2 separate regions of the Homo sapiens genome follow, and region 1 is linked to region 2. The links are contacts of gene promoters, found by promoter capture Hi-C in blood cells and fetal thymus (Javierre and others, 2016). All regions are on one chromosome and are shown on one strand. The core of a region is centred on a gene start or on the middle of the fragment in contact, and the rest is flanking DNA. Distances in the headings are between cores, read along the strand shown. Region 1 overlaps SERGEF (secretion regulating guanine nucleotide exchange factor). Region 2 holds the start of KCNC1 (potassium voltage-gated channel subfamily C member 1).

Region 1 (6,667 bases), core at 3,861-6,360, 190 kb after region 2:
AACCTTCACACTCTCATGCACATTCCTCACACGCTTGCTGCAGATTATGTGAATGGGGCCTGGACCAGGGTGGAGGCAGTACAGATTCCAGACTCACTGGGAAGGGAGGTGTTGCAGATGGACTAATGAGAATACAGAGAGTGAAGCAAAAGGTGACTGAGATTTTGAGTCCTGGTCACAGGGGAAAACAACTTAACACAGTGCTAAGTGCTAGGGATGCAGAGGTGGGTGTACACACAGCTCCAGCCCTCCCCCAGGATAAGTTAGTTCCCAGCACTCTGCTGCCATAGCACCCTGGACACCCTCATCATTGCACTCAGCATCCTGGACTGACACTATGACTTACCTGTCTCACCTGCTACATCACAAGCTCCTTGATGGAAGAGACTGTGTCATACTGAACTTTATATCTACAGCCATCTAGCATAGTGCGTGGTACAATTCCCAGGCCTACCAATTACTAGCTTTGCCAAGTCATTTAAACTCTCTAAGCCTCAATTTCCTAGTCTGTAGAGTGAAGATGATAATAATCTCTACACCCAAGGAGGAAGAAATGAGTGAACTTATCTAAAGCCCTTACTTATCCCAATCCCTGACTGAGAGTCAATACTCAAAAAGGGTTAGCTAGTGAATGAATTTGGGGCAATGAATTTGAGGTAAGAGGGAGAGAAAAACATTCAAACAAATGGTTCTGGAATTATGTAATAAATAATATAGTAGGAATACATTTGAATTACTCTGAGAGCAGAAAGGAAAGCACCAAATTTTGCCTTGGCATATATAGAAAACTTCACAGAGGAGGTAACACTTGAACTAAAATCTAAAGATCTAAAATCAGGCCAAAGGAAGGCCATGTGTGAAGTCAGAGAGGCAGGAAAGAGAACCTGGTATGTTCAGGAACTGCAAGTCTGGCTATAAGAAGGGTCTGTGCAAAGGAATGGTGGTGACACACAGGGTGAAGAGATGACTTAGAGCCAAAAATTCCCTGCAAGCTCTGCCACAGAGAATGGATTTCTCCTGGAAGATACTGAAAAGCCACTGCAGGGTTTTGAGTAAGAGAGTGAAACATAGAAGCACTGTGGTGGCAGTGTGGAGGGTAGAAAAAAGGGGTAAGACTGGAGACAAACATAGAACAGTGGGGGTGCGGGGGGTGATTTGGGTTGAGAAGAAAAGAATGGAGATGGGGTGGAGAGAGGGGGAAAGTGAAGCTGGCCAGCTCAAGAAGTTAGGTAGAAACTGAGTCTCAGAAAAATTGCAACTGGCCCTTGGCATTCCCCAAGACTTCTTCACATAAAGTGTAGGTCTATGAGTTGTAATAAATCACCTTCCTTCCATGTTTGCTGTCTTACAATTTGTGCAATAGAGGAGCATGAATATGGAAAATTCCAGCTGAAAACTTTGACCGCATGAACAGGCCCAGAGGTCACAGTCACCACTGATGGTTAGATGAAACCATCTACAAACAGGCCTGGGATCCCGGCCAGCAATTTTTTATTCACATGCAAACTTGGGGATGGAGTTCCACCGACAAAATCTTTCAGGTGTACTCTTTTTTTTCTTTTGTTTTTTAAGCCATTTACAGGAACCCAAGGTCCTCCTTGTACTTCAGAGAAATGCTTTGTATTTAATTTGTTCTTAAAGAAAAAACAATAGCCTCTTTGCTCTACATGACTAGGCCACTGGGCACCACGAAAGAGATACAGTAACCCACCAAGTCTCTAAGGTCCCAGAAGTCCATCTGTCTGTCACACACATCACAAGGGCACCACGAAAGAGATACAGTAACCCACCAAGTCTCTAAGGTCCCAGAAGTCCATCTGTCTGTCACACACATCACAAAGACACCACTCATGGCAGAAGAAATACGCTACTGCAGGGTGAAAGGGACTGCATTCTAGAAGCCTTCTGGAGGGCAAAGGAAGGAAGAGAAGAAGAAAAGAAGGGTGAAAAAGGGGGAGGGAGTGTTCAAGACCATACATGACCACTTCTGCTAAACACAAAATAGTTGCCTTTTCTGCTTCTTTCCTTGCTTTCAATCTAATTAGACAGAAAGAGCTAATGAGTAGGCAGCAATGGTGCTTGGTTCAGCTGTTCCAGACCCTAGTGTTTCCTCCTTATTAAAAATAAAGAGACCCAAGGGCTCAATTTGGTAAAAATGCACACAGGGAGGCACATTTCCATCTTACAAAAATGTTTTGCATTAAAAAAACCATATCTGTTTAATAGATACCAAAAATTAAATGTACAATAGCAAGATCCCTGGCAGTATCTGTCTGCATTTTTGGAAGTGTCTTCAAAGACAGGACATTAGAATAAGACTCAAAAGACCTGAATTCCAGTGTCAGCTGTACCATTTACCAGCTGTGTGATCTTGGGCAAAATATGTAACATCTTGAGCCTCAGCTGCCTTACTATCAAATGAGTATAATGCTCTGCCTGTCTCACAGAGTCTGGGGGAAACAATATATTTTGAAAACTATAAAGCACTTTGCTAATACCTACTCAGTCAATAAATATTCACTGAGAGCCTACTAGGTATTAGGCATTGTTTCCCTTCAACTGTTAATGTTATTACCAATATTCCACCCCTTCCAGCTCAGTCATTAGATGTCAGTTTCAAATGCAGACAGGTCTATGGTCTCAAGCCAACCTCTCATTCACCCAGTTTTTTTTTCCCAATTGGGGCATTAGTCACTTGCCTCCATCAGGAGATATCTAACGACATCTCAGCCCTAAGAGGCCCTGAGACATGTTAGTACAAATGATGATGGGGAGAGGAGCCTCTGCCACCTCTGCTACCCTAGAGGGCCTGATCCTAAGAAGCTTCCAGAATCTTACCCTCCACAACCACAGAAGAAGACAGTTCTCACAAGCAGGGCCAGAGGCAGGGAGAGACAGGTAAACAGATGGAAAACCTGCATGGCTAAGTCTTTCCAGTATCAGAGTGCCTGGCTCCACGTCCACACCAGGTGACCTTTACTCCAGCGTACCCCTGTCTTCTATCAGGAAAGATTTCAAGTTTCAGAGGTTAGCAGCTCAGAAGCAGCCTCAGTGTGCTGCCCATTCCTGCCCTGATCTTGTTCCTTGGTTTCCATCACTGGGTATCTGCCTTATTCTAGAAACCATGCCCTCCTTTATGCCAGAGGTTCAGCAAGTGTGACCCTGAATTGATTGTTTCCTCTATCTGAATCCCCACCTAATAAACCGTTTCACCAAGACCAGAGTCCTACCTTGCTATTACTCCAAAAGACTATCTTGATGCAGAATCCACCTGGAGGGCCTCCTGAGACCAGAGCTCTAGGAATTCATCTCCACATCTCCCACTGTGCAGTTCAGTATCTGGCATGTAATGGGCACACAACAAATATTTATAGAATGAAAAGGTTACCCACTGGTCTAGATCACTGCAGACTGTCTGCTCCTATGCCCCTCCCCAACTCACAGGACCTCTTTGACGGATAAACCAACCATCGCCTGTCACCATGTTCTTTGGCTGCTTTGTTGTTCCAACTCCAGGCCCCTGACAGGGTCTCTGGGTCAAACATACCTACTCTATTCCCGGTATGCCCTCTTTGCCACTTAGCACATCCTAAAAGAAAGAGTGCTAAGCAAATTCTGAAGTCTGAAGGCTGCTTCAGTGTCCCAGACACACCTTTTGCTCCTGGATTATGAGGGTTAACCCACACTAGAGACTCATTTGGGGCCATCTGGCAATTTTTGGCACCACCCACTTCCCCTTGTCCAGTGTGGAAGGGACTCAAGTCCTGTTCAACAAGCACTACTGAACACAAAGCCTGGTGTCATAGAGAGGCTCTGCTTAAGATCCCGTGGTAAATGCCTCACTAAAACCTAAGAAAGAAGGGCTTCAGGCAAGTCTAGACTACCAACATACCCGATTTTGGTTCTGTGAGGCTGCTGTAAACATGAAAATGCAAGTAGGAAACCTTATTTCTGCTTCTTTACATTGCTAGATCAGCAGAGGAAAAGCACACATACAACACAGAAGGAAAATGATGACCTGAGTGTTGGTCCTGGTCTCTTCCACTAATTTGCTGTGTGACCTCAGGCAAGTCACTCTCCTTCTTTGGATTTCTGTGTCCTCCTTTGTAAAGTCACAGTCTCAGATGTGATGATCCATTTATAAAGCCCCGTCTATGCCTGACATTTAGCAATTTCCTTGCTACTCAGAACACAGAATTGAAATCATCTGGGAACCTGTTAGAAGTGGAAAGTAGCCCTACTGACTCAGACCTACAGAGCTAGAATCTTCTACATTTTAACAAGATCCCCAAGTGATTGCACACACATTGAAATTTGAGAAACACTGTTGTGCAGCTTCTCAGGAAGATCCAGGCCGACCTGGGGCATGACATCTTCTGCAAGAAGCTGGAAGAAGAAAGAGTCTGTCACAGGACTTTACTGAATGTGATTAGAAGCAGCTGGCTAGTAGTAAGGGCTGAGGAGAAAATGCTGCAAGATCCTTTTAAACTCAGCTGCAATCCATAAAATGTCTCTCAAGTACTTAGAGTCTCTAAATTTGAAGTCTTTAGATAAAATGACTTTAAAAATACTAATTATGCACGGAAGTCTAACCATGAACCAAGCATTAGTGAATCCAAAGCTCCTTCTGTACTGGCATGCTGCCAGCAGGCATGAACAGAAGCTCTAAAATCAGCAAGGAGGTCACCTCTGTAACCACAGCATTTCTCCCGGCCTCACCTGTCTCCTGACTGGTCCTCACCTACAGAACTTCAGTCTCAGTTGGAATCTCACAGACAAGACCACATTGAAAGGAACACTGTCTGAGCCTAGACAGTATGGCAAAGGTGAGAGAGGGCTACAAACTCTGGGGTCACAGACCCACAGAGTCAGTCCATGGAGGAGAAAGGGAAAAAAGGGAGAAGCAGAGTGGAACCAGCACAGACTGAATATTTAGTGGTGAAGACTCCCGCTTCCAAATCCAGGGAGAAGCCAGTTTCTGACTTCTTATCTGTCTCTCCCACAGACTGCAAGCTTTGTGAGGACAGGACTGTAAAACTTGTCTCTAGCTATAGTGGCCTGCACATAGAAGTCATTCAACAAATGTTTTATGAGTGAATGAATGAACGAACCAACCAATGAAAAAAAAACAATAAAGAAACAAGGACCAAAGATCATTCGCTTGGTTTCATCAGTGTCAGTCGAGACTACCCTTCAAACTCGTGAACTAAGCTTACTCCTCAGTCCAAAAGCCAGAACAGAAGACCCCAAGGGGTCTAGGAGATTTAAACCTGAAAAAAAAAGGGACTCAAACTAGCTTGGCATTTTTTTCTGGACCAAGGTATGCTAACAAACAGGCTATTCTAACCTTTTCCAGGTTTTGTAATGTTTTATGCTACTCTTACCAGAATTTCCAGGCAAGAAATTCTTTTCTAGAAACTAGATGCTATTTATATTTTAGTTATTAAATGCAATGTGAAAGTACCTAACACATAATCATCATCTACATTAACATTTGTTGAAACTCAATCTATAGAATTCTATTTCTCTATGTCATAAACTAGGAATTTTGCAAATAGCAGAATTACAGAACACTTTGGACCACCCACTTTTGTGAATATAAAATCACTTAAGTAAGGCAAGCTGACTTTGGTGGAATAGCCTTTATTTTTCATCCACTTACATAACTCGGCATTGTCAAAGTGCACCAATAACTGGTGCTGTCATCTCTCATGCCCCCAAGAAAAAACTCCTTTGGGGCTCTTTCTACATTTATTTTCAATTGCCAGATCCCCAGAGGAAAAAATCAAATCACTGACGCTATTTCAAACTTCATGCTCAAGGCAGCCACTAAGAGGATAATAGGGCAGCTCAGTTTTTGCTCTCTTTGAGACAGGAAGACACCCCATGGCTGTGAAGGAAAGGCAGGACACGTGTGTGGACATTCAAAATATAGCAAGGAAACCCAAAACAACAGAAAGACAAGAGGAGCTGGAGGAAAAAGCTGTTTGGAACTATGAATCATCCCAAGGTAACTTATTATGTTTTTATATAACAAGCAAAATGAGCTTTCAGCATTGCCATTCATTCATTGTTTTAGCCATTCATGCATTTGTTCAGCAAACATTTGTGGGTTCCCATTATATGCCAGGCGCTGTGCTAGGCAGGCAGGCAGCAGAACATCAGCCTACTACTGCTTACTATGTTCCTGCCACTCTAGCCTTCCTTCAGGTCTTTTGCAAGGTTGTTTCATGCTTCAACACAGTTCTCTGTGTAAATGTTTCCTCTTCCAAGAGGTCTTGCCTGATTTATTCCCCCATCCCACCCTGGACTAGATTAGGCTTGTCTGCTCTATATTCCTACAGCATTTCCTTTTTAACATTCTACACATCCATCATTACTTTATAGTCTCAGATAGATGGTAAGCTCCATGTGAGCGGGGACTGCCTCTCCAGTTACGAGCACAGAGGCTAGAATATAGTAGGATTCGATACATATTCACTGAACAAATGAACAAACTGGGATTTATAGCCAAGCTACAGGCTCTGAGAGATATAGCGGAATAAGTGCAGGATTTGGAGCTCAACAGACCCAAATCTGAACCCCAGCTGTACCACTCATTAGCTAGGTTACCTTAAGCAAGTCCCATAATCTCTCTGAGCCTTAGTTCCTCATGTGTGAAACACAG
Region 2 (6,893 bases), core at 4,394-6,893:
CCATTTAAAATTTTTAATATGGTGTAAGTATGGGATCCAAATTCATTCTTTTGCGTATGAATATATAGTTGTTTCAGCATCATTTATTGAAATGACGATTCTTTCTCCATTGAATTGTCTTGGCACTCTTGTCAAAAATTAATTGACCATAAATATATGAGTTTATTTCTGTACTCTCAATTCTATTCCATTGATCTATCTATCTATCCTTATGCCAATACCACACAGTCTTGATTATTGTAGTGTGGTAGTTAGTTTTGAAATTGGGAAGCGTGAGTCCTCCAGCTTTACTCTCCTTCTTCAATACTGTTGTGAGTTTTCTGGGTCCCTTGCATTTCATAATGTATCTTTAAGTAGTCCTGTCCAGGAGGTGTTTTCAGTAGCTACTAACTGTGCCTGGTACTACCCGGGACCTATAAATTGGCATAGAAATGTAAAGCAGGGTCTTGTTAGTACACAGAAAAAAATAGTTATATTGGAGGGAAGGTGATGATTTTTTAATTTCCAGTCATCTTCGATGTAGCTTATGTAAAATAAATGTATTAACTAAATATTATTCTGTAATTGCAAAAAAAGTTGCATCTGTTTTTGTTGGCATACTGAATGCTTCCAAATAAATGTAACTTATTTTAAATCATTATATAGGTGTGCCGTGCAGTTAATAAAAATATGAAGCTTTTTTCTGTATTTTTAAATATTTGTAGTATATGTCAGCTTCTTAAAATTTATATTTGGTCTTGAGTCCTTTTCTAAGTCTAAATAAATATTCACTTTTGTATCCAACTTTGTATTCTTTTTTGCTTTCTTTTTTTAAAAGAGTGACCCCCAAAACTTCCAGGCTTCAGGCCCTACACACCCTGGACCCACCTCTGCATACTGACCATGCTCACCTGCAGGCTGACACATCCACAGGTGTACATACAAGAGAACTTGCCAGGCTCTCCCTATCAGAGGAGCCGCAGAGGGAAGACCTTTAGGGTAGCCACGAGTCTCCAGCTGCTTCTGGGAGGAGAACTCAGTGTCCTCTGCACAGTCCTGCTGTGAACATGCTTGCAGGAGGGCCTGTACCCACCCAGCCTCCTTACATATATGCACACCTGACCATGTTCACCACAGCCATCATCTCATCTCACACTTCCGCACCTCCCTCCCACAGCCTGCAGGGAGAGGCATCCAGGCCCAGGGAGGGCTAATGCTCTGTCCCCAGGGCCACACTGACACCCTAAGGGACATTGCTGAAGGATGGTAGGAGTCCATGAGGGGGAGGGGGTGTAAGGGCTGGTCACAGAGGGATGAGAAGTGGGCTAGGGAGCCCGAGGGAAGGGAGAAAAGGGAAGAAGAGGAAATGAGGTACCATGTCATTTAATCCTTACCAGACATTGGTCCCTTTATGGATAATGAGGAAATAGAAGCCTAGAGAGGGAATGGGACTAGTTGACGCAGCTAGTGAATAGCAAAAATGGGATTTGTAACCAAGTCTGTCTACATCAGTGGTTCTCTCAACCGGAAGAAATTTTACCTCCCAGGGTACATTTGGCAGTGTCTGTAGACCTTTTTGGTGATCACTGCTAGGGAAGAGGCTTCTACCGACACCTAGTGGACAGAGGCCTGCTAAATATCCTGCAATGCACAGTACAGCACCCGGCCCCAACCCTGGCAAAGGATTACATCTGAGCCAAGATGTCAACAGTGCAGAAGTTGAGAAACCCTGGTCTAGACACCTTCCAAGAGTATTCTTCACCTTGGCCCCTTTCTGGACTTCCCATGGCCTAAGCCATGTTGGTGCCCCTGCCCCAGAGTTTCCAAGAAGGAACAGCTAGCTGTATACCTCGCTGCAGCTCAGCCCAGGTTACCAGGGTCACTGCTCAACCTACAGATCTGTGGCCAAGGTCGCCAATTTCCCACTACGGCATCTCTGGATTCAATCTTCCCTGACCATTGGAGGCAGGCGGTATGGTCTAGGGAGGGGATGTCTGCCACCCCCACGGCTTACCATCAGAGCAGGGTTACTATCCTCAAAGCCTTCTCGGTCAATACCCAGCTTAGGTTAGTTCCCAGCCATGGCCACAAGATGGCACCCCAGCCCACCAGGAGGGCTGAGGCTCTGGGCCTGGGAGAGCAGCATGGAGGATGTGCCAACCTGGACAAAAGCCTAGGGGCTGGACTTGGGCCAGTTCCAGAGCTTAGCAGGACCAGATCTAAGGCCTGCAAGTGCCAGGTGGGAAAACATAGGCCAAACTTGGCTTCAGAACTCCCTTCACCTTTTTTTTAGTCCACTCCCAACACCAGCTTATATTCTAGCCTTTCCTACATGAAGCTTACTGAAGCCCAGCAATCCCTCCTTGGGCCTAAACAAGAGAAATTCTAGAACTTAGATGTTAAGGATACAGGAGTTATTATTATTATTTCAATACAACAGTAAAAGCAAAAAACGAGGCACAGAGAAGTTGAGTAACTTGCCCAAGGTCACAGCTAGTCAGTACTGGAGCTGGGATTTGAATCCAGGCAGTCTGGTTTTAAAGTCTGTGCTCTTAGCCACTGAACATACCACACCACAACTGCTCCCACCCCCACCAGCCCCAGCTACCAAAGACCCTCTGGCACCAGACCACAAGCTTTCTTCTGCAAGGGAGGGGCAAATGGCTGCGAATAGGAGGTGCTGCTCCAAAGTGGAAAAGGAGTGAGGTTTTCAGTCTAGCTGGGGGTCTGTCGTTAGTGTTTGCGAGTGAGAAGCTAGGGAATGGTTAGTCATTCTTCCTCCTATTTCCCCCCAAAACCCTCTGTTTCTCTGTTTTCTGGTTTTTGGTTTTTGTTGATTTCTTCTGTGTTGCCCTCTTGGTTTTCCTAGGCTGTTTGCAAATGCTAGCATTCTCGCAGTGTGAAGGGGAAGTGAGAGAAGAAAGTTTGATGTCCTGTTCAGGATCCACAAGGGAGGCCATTCTTTGGGGCCTGGGCTGGGGGTGTGTCATCAGGGATCAAAGTGAGAATCCTAAAGTGGAACAGTGTGGGGCACATTGGGAACAGCTACCCTCTCCTGCTGGGGAGGCTCCTGTGTCTGAGTTTTCTCTGCTTACCTCTTGGGGGATTTTAGGGTGTAATGGGCTTTAGGGTGCAATGAATACCCTTTCACATTCCTTCTGCCTCCAACCCTGGCCTACCTCCCTCTTTCTAACACATCGTCCAGAGCCCCTAATCACCCAACCTTCTGCCTACCAGGAGCCCCTTGTTTCTCTCTGTCTCTCTGTGCCCCCTCCCCAACTGCCTGGGTCACACTGCAGCCCCCTATTAGGACTCGCCATGGCGTAGTGATGGGGCCCTGCACTGATTCCCTAAAAAACCCTGGGTAAGTCCCTCCTCCTGACTTGGTCTCCATTAGGTGTTCCAGACTCCCACAGTCTCTGCCACTTGGGTTCTAGGATCCCAGCCTCTCTCCTAGCCTTTCTCAAATCATCTGGACCTTAGTGAGGATCTACTGTATTCTGGGCACTCTGGAGGGAAGCAAACAAGAAGCCCTGGAGGAGCTGATGGTCCTTTTATGGAGATCAGATGAGCTATGGAGAAGATCAGGAGCCATACTCTGATCCCGTGTGGTTCTGCAGGTGAAGAGAGAGGTGAAGTCCTGGAACCCTATGGCTAGTAGAATCCCAGAAGATTCTTGGGTGAGAAGAGGGGCTGGACATCTGGGTAGAAAGAAAGGAAGGTTTGGAGAGGCTGCTTTCTTGTCTCTCCCCATCTTGATTTCTCCCAGCTGTGTGTGTGTGTGTGTGTGTGTGTGTGTGTGTGTGTGTGTGTGTGTGTATGTGTCTGCCTCTGTGTCCACCTTTTTCTCTTCCTTCTGGATTCTCCATTTCTATTTCATCTTCTACCAATGTTGGGACAGAATTTCCTGAGAACCCATGTCCCGGGGATCTGAATATGGGCCAGGATGGGCCACACCAGGCCGGGCCACACCAGGCCAGGCTTCCTTGTGGTTAGGAGATGGGGACTCACACTGGTCAGGGTGAAAGGGACACTCAAAATCACTCTCATCCCTGCATTACTCTGAGATTGAAGGGGAAACAGCTCCTATTTAGAGGAATCACACAGATCAATATCTGGAGGGAGGAGGTGCCATGCAGGCCCCAAAATCCAACCCTCTCTTTGTCTCTGCCCAACTCTGCCCATTTCTGACTTAATTTAGCCTCTCTGTCTCTCCCCTTGTCCTATTCCCATCTGTCAATCCTTGCCCTGCCCCTCTCCACCCCTTCAAGCCTTTTACCCACCACACACAGATTTTCCTGTGGCTAGATTGGGATTCCCCTGGCCAAGTAAGGAGAGCGATGTCTGTGGCACAGCTTTGTCCCCAGGCTCACAACGGCATCTGTGGGTCAGGGTAGAGGGACAGCTGTCTGCACAGTTAGAAAGTGCCAGCAGTAATAAAAGCCTCATATCTTCTTAATTAAATCGCCCTTTGCCCAGGCATCCTGTGTTCGATTGGGTTGAGCTGGGATCAATAAGCCTCTTTCCCACCCCAGCCACCCCTGGAGACGGGCCTGACCTCCCCAGTCCTGCCTAGGCCCACCTGGCCACCTCCCCAGAAGGCTGGGAGCTTCTCAAGGCCAGAGGCTGGGTCAGATTCATCTCTTGTGTCCTTGTGCCTGGGACGGATCCTGAAACAAGTAAGGAGTAAAGGAGTGATTGCTTTACTGAGTAAACCAAGGCACTAGCAGCAGGCATGGGCCAGGAAGGCTTTGAGGTTCAAACTGGAACTCCCACCCCCAGGACCAACTGTGAAGATGGAGGAATCACAGCAAGCAGCAGCTCCCACCCAGCTCCCAGACATAACACCAGCTTATCACCCAGGGCAGTTGAAGCCCTAGGAAGTGCGGGGTGGGGGTGTCAGTGCTCAGGGAAACTACGAGCAGTTGCTGCTTCTGACCTCTGAGGGCAGAAGGTCCTTTTCATAAGGGGTCTCCACCTAGGGATCCAGGGTTAGTGTGGGAGAGTCCGTGAGCTTGGATGGATGTGGCACTCATGGGAGACTCCCTCTGTCTGAAGCTATAAAGGGCCCAGGGTCAGTAAGGAGTCCAAAGGGGTTAATAGGGGTCCAGGATTGATTGTTAGTGGAGGGCGTAGAGGATAACGTGGTGTGTGTGTGTGTGTGTGTGTGTTGGGGTTCATGCAAGACATTACCCATGGAAGGAACATGGGGCCTCCAGGTTCCGCGAGAAGGGTCGGTATTAAAGGATTCCTTGGAGCGGTCAGCACTGGTCCGGGCCAGGGTGTCTCTGATGACAAAACTCCGGGAGAGCTTTGTCTCACCAGGGATCAGATGGTCCCTGGTTTGGAAGGCAAGGGGAGGGTGCCAACGCCCTTCTCACCTCAGTCTGACCCGGGGGCGCGGGCCCAGACGTCTCTCGGAGCCCCCGCCCCTGGAGTGGCGTTCCCCGAGGGCGGACCGTGGGCGGGTCCCCCGGGAGCAGCAGGAGCCGCGCGGGGCGGGCGCCCCCAGCGCCGAGGTTGAGGGAGGCCGGGCTCGGTGCGGGGCTGGGAGGGGGGCGCGGAATCAGGGCTTTTTAGGACCCAGCGCGGCGCCTTCCTCCGGGGGCGAGTGCGGCTGCGCGCGCCGTGTGCCCGTGTCCGGAGAGCGGCGGGCTGGACGCGGACCGCGCGAACGAGCAGGCGACGGGCGAGCAGCAAGCGGAGCAGCAGCCCGGGCGGCAGCAGCGTCGCGGCGGCGGCGGCAGCGGCCGCTCCGCGCCTCGCCTCACCGGCCTCGCTGGCCTCACCTCGCCGCGCCCGGACCCGCCACCCCCGCCTCCCCGCCCGACCTCCGCAGCCCCCGTCTCGGCCGGCAGCGCCCACCGCCTGCCCGAAGCGAGGAGCGGAGTGCGGGGCGCAGAGGCACCGGAGCCAGTGCCCGCCGGCCCCGCAAATCAAACCCAGCCAGGAGAACCCCCGCCTGGCCCCGTGCAGCTCCGCGACCGCCGGGAGCTGTCCCTTCAGCACCGCCGCGGGAGCCCAAGTCCGAGCGCAGCCCAGCGGAACCCCAGCTCGAGCCCGGGCTCACGGAGAGCAGCGCTCGGCGTTAGCCGCACGAGCAACACCCCGGGTGCCCCTGCCCAGGGGGCCCGCCATCTCCTCCAGGAGGCGGGGAGAAGGAACGAGGAGGGCGGGCGGGCAGGCGGGCCCGCCGCCGGGGGGAGCAGGCAGCCAAGCAAGGAGAGAGGGAGGGGGCCGGAGCCCGCCCTGCGTCCCGAGCTGCAGCCCGGCCACGCAGGGAGGAAGGCAGGCGGCATCCATCTCCCCCGCGCCGAGAGCGCGCCGCGGCGACCACCTCACAGAGGAGCGCGAATTTCCCGGCCCTGTCTCCTCCCCTCCCCCTCCTGGGGGCTGGCCTCTAGTCCGGCCCCGGGAGCGGCTGACCTTTCCCCCAAAAGCTTTGTGCCGATTTCTCCATTTTCCCGCGGAGATGGGGACGGGAGCCCGGCCCCCCAACCCATTTTCCCCACCTCCCGGGGCTCGCTGCTGAGCCCGCCCCCCTCCCTCTTTCCCCCTCACTCCCTCCCTCCCTCCCTTTCTCCCTCCCTTTCTCCCTCCCTTCTTTCCTCCTCTGCCTCCTCCGCTGCCGGACCAGCTCCCTCCCACATCTGGCTCCTAGAGACCCCTGGGATCCCGCGCACATTCCCCTGGACCGGCACCCGACAAAGCGCCCGGAGAGGCTTGGCTCGCTCGTTGGGGTGGCCAGAGCCGCAGGCCTCTGTTCCCCCCGACGGCTGGGGGGAGGGGGGAAGAGGGCGCGCGCCCCCCTCCCCGGCGCCAACTCCCCCTGGCGGCCGCTCCCATGGGTGTCGCTGGGCCGCGCCATGCCTAAGGGGGCGCCGCGATGGGCCAAGGGGACGAGAGCGAGCGCA

What was found. Contacts are between HindIII fragments. The CHiCAGO score rates a contact against its expected background, and 5 or more counts as called.
Region 1: a contact is called between a fragment that was not itself captured here and the fragment with the promoter of KCNC1 in region 2, in 1 of 17 cell types (endothelial precursors). The highest score is 5.0, in endothelial precursors.

The regions. Positions count from the first base shown.
Region 1 is chr11:17,923,508-17,930,174 of GRCh38, forward strand. The region is part of intron 9 of SERGEF (secretion regulating guanine nucleotide exchange factor); the gene reads right to left. Among named protein-coding and RNA genes, the nearest start is that of SERGEF, 86 kb to the right of the region's middle. The HindIII fragment of the contact is 198 bases long and covers 5,012-5,209 here.
Region 2 is chr11:17,729,138-17,736,030 of GRCh38, forward strand. KCNC1 (potassium voltage-gated channel subfamily C member 1) reads left to right here and starts at 5,644. Exons shown (of 4, transcript NM_001112741.2): 1 at 5,644-6,893. The coding sequence starts at 6,866. RefSeq lists a silencer at 5,484-5,583. The HindIII fragment of the contact is 3,804 bases long and covers 2,614-6,417 here.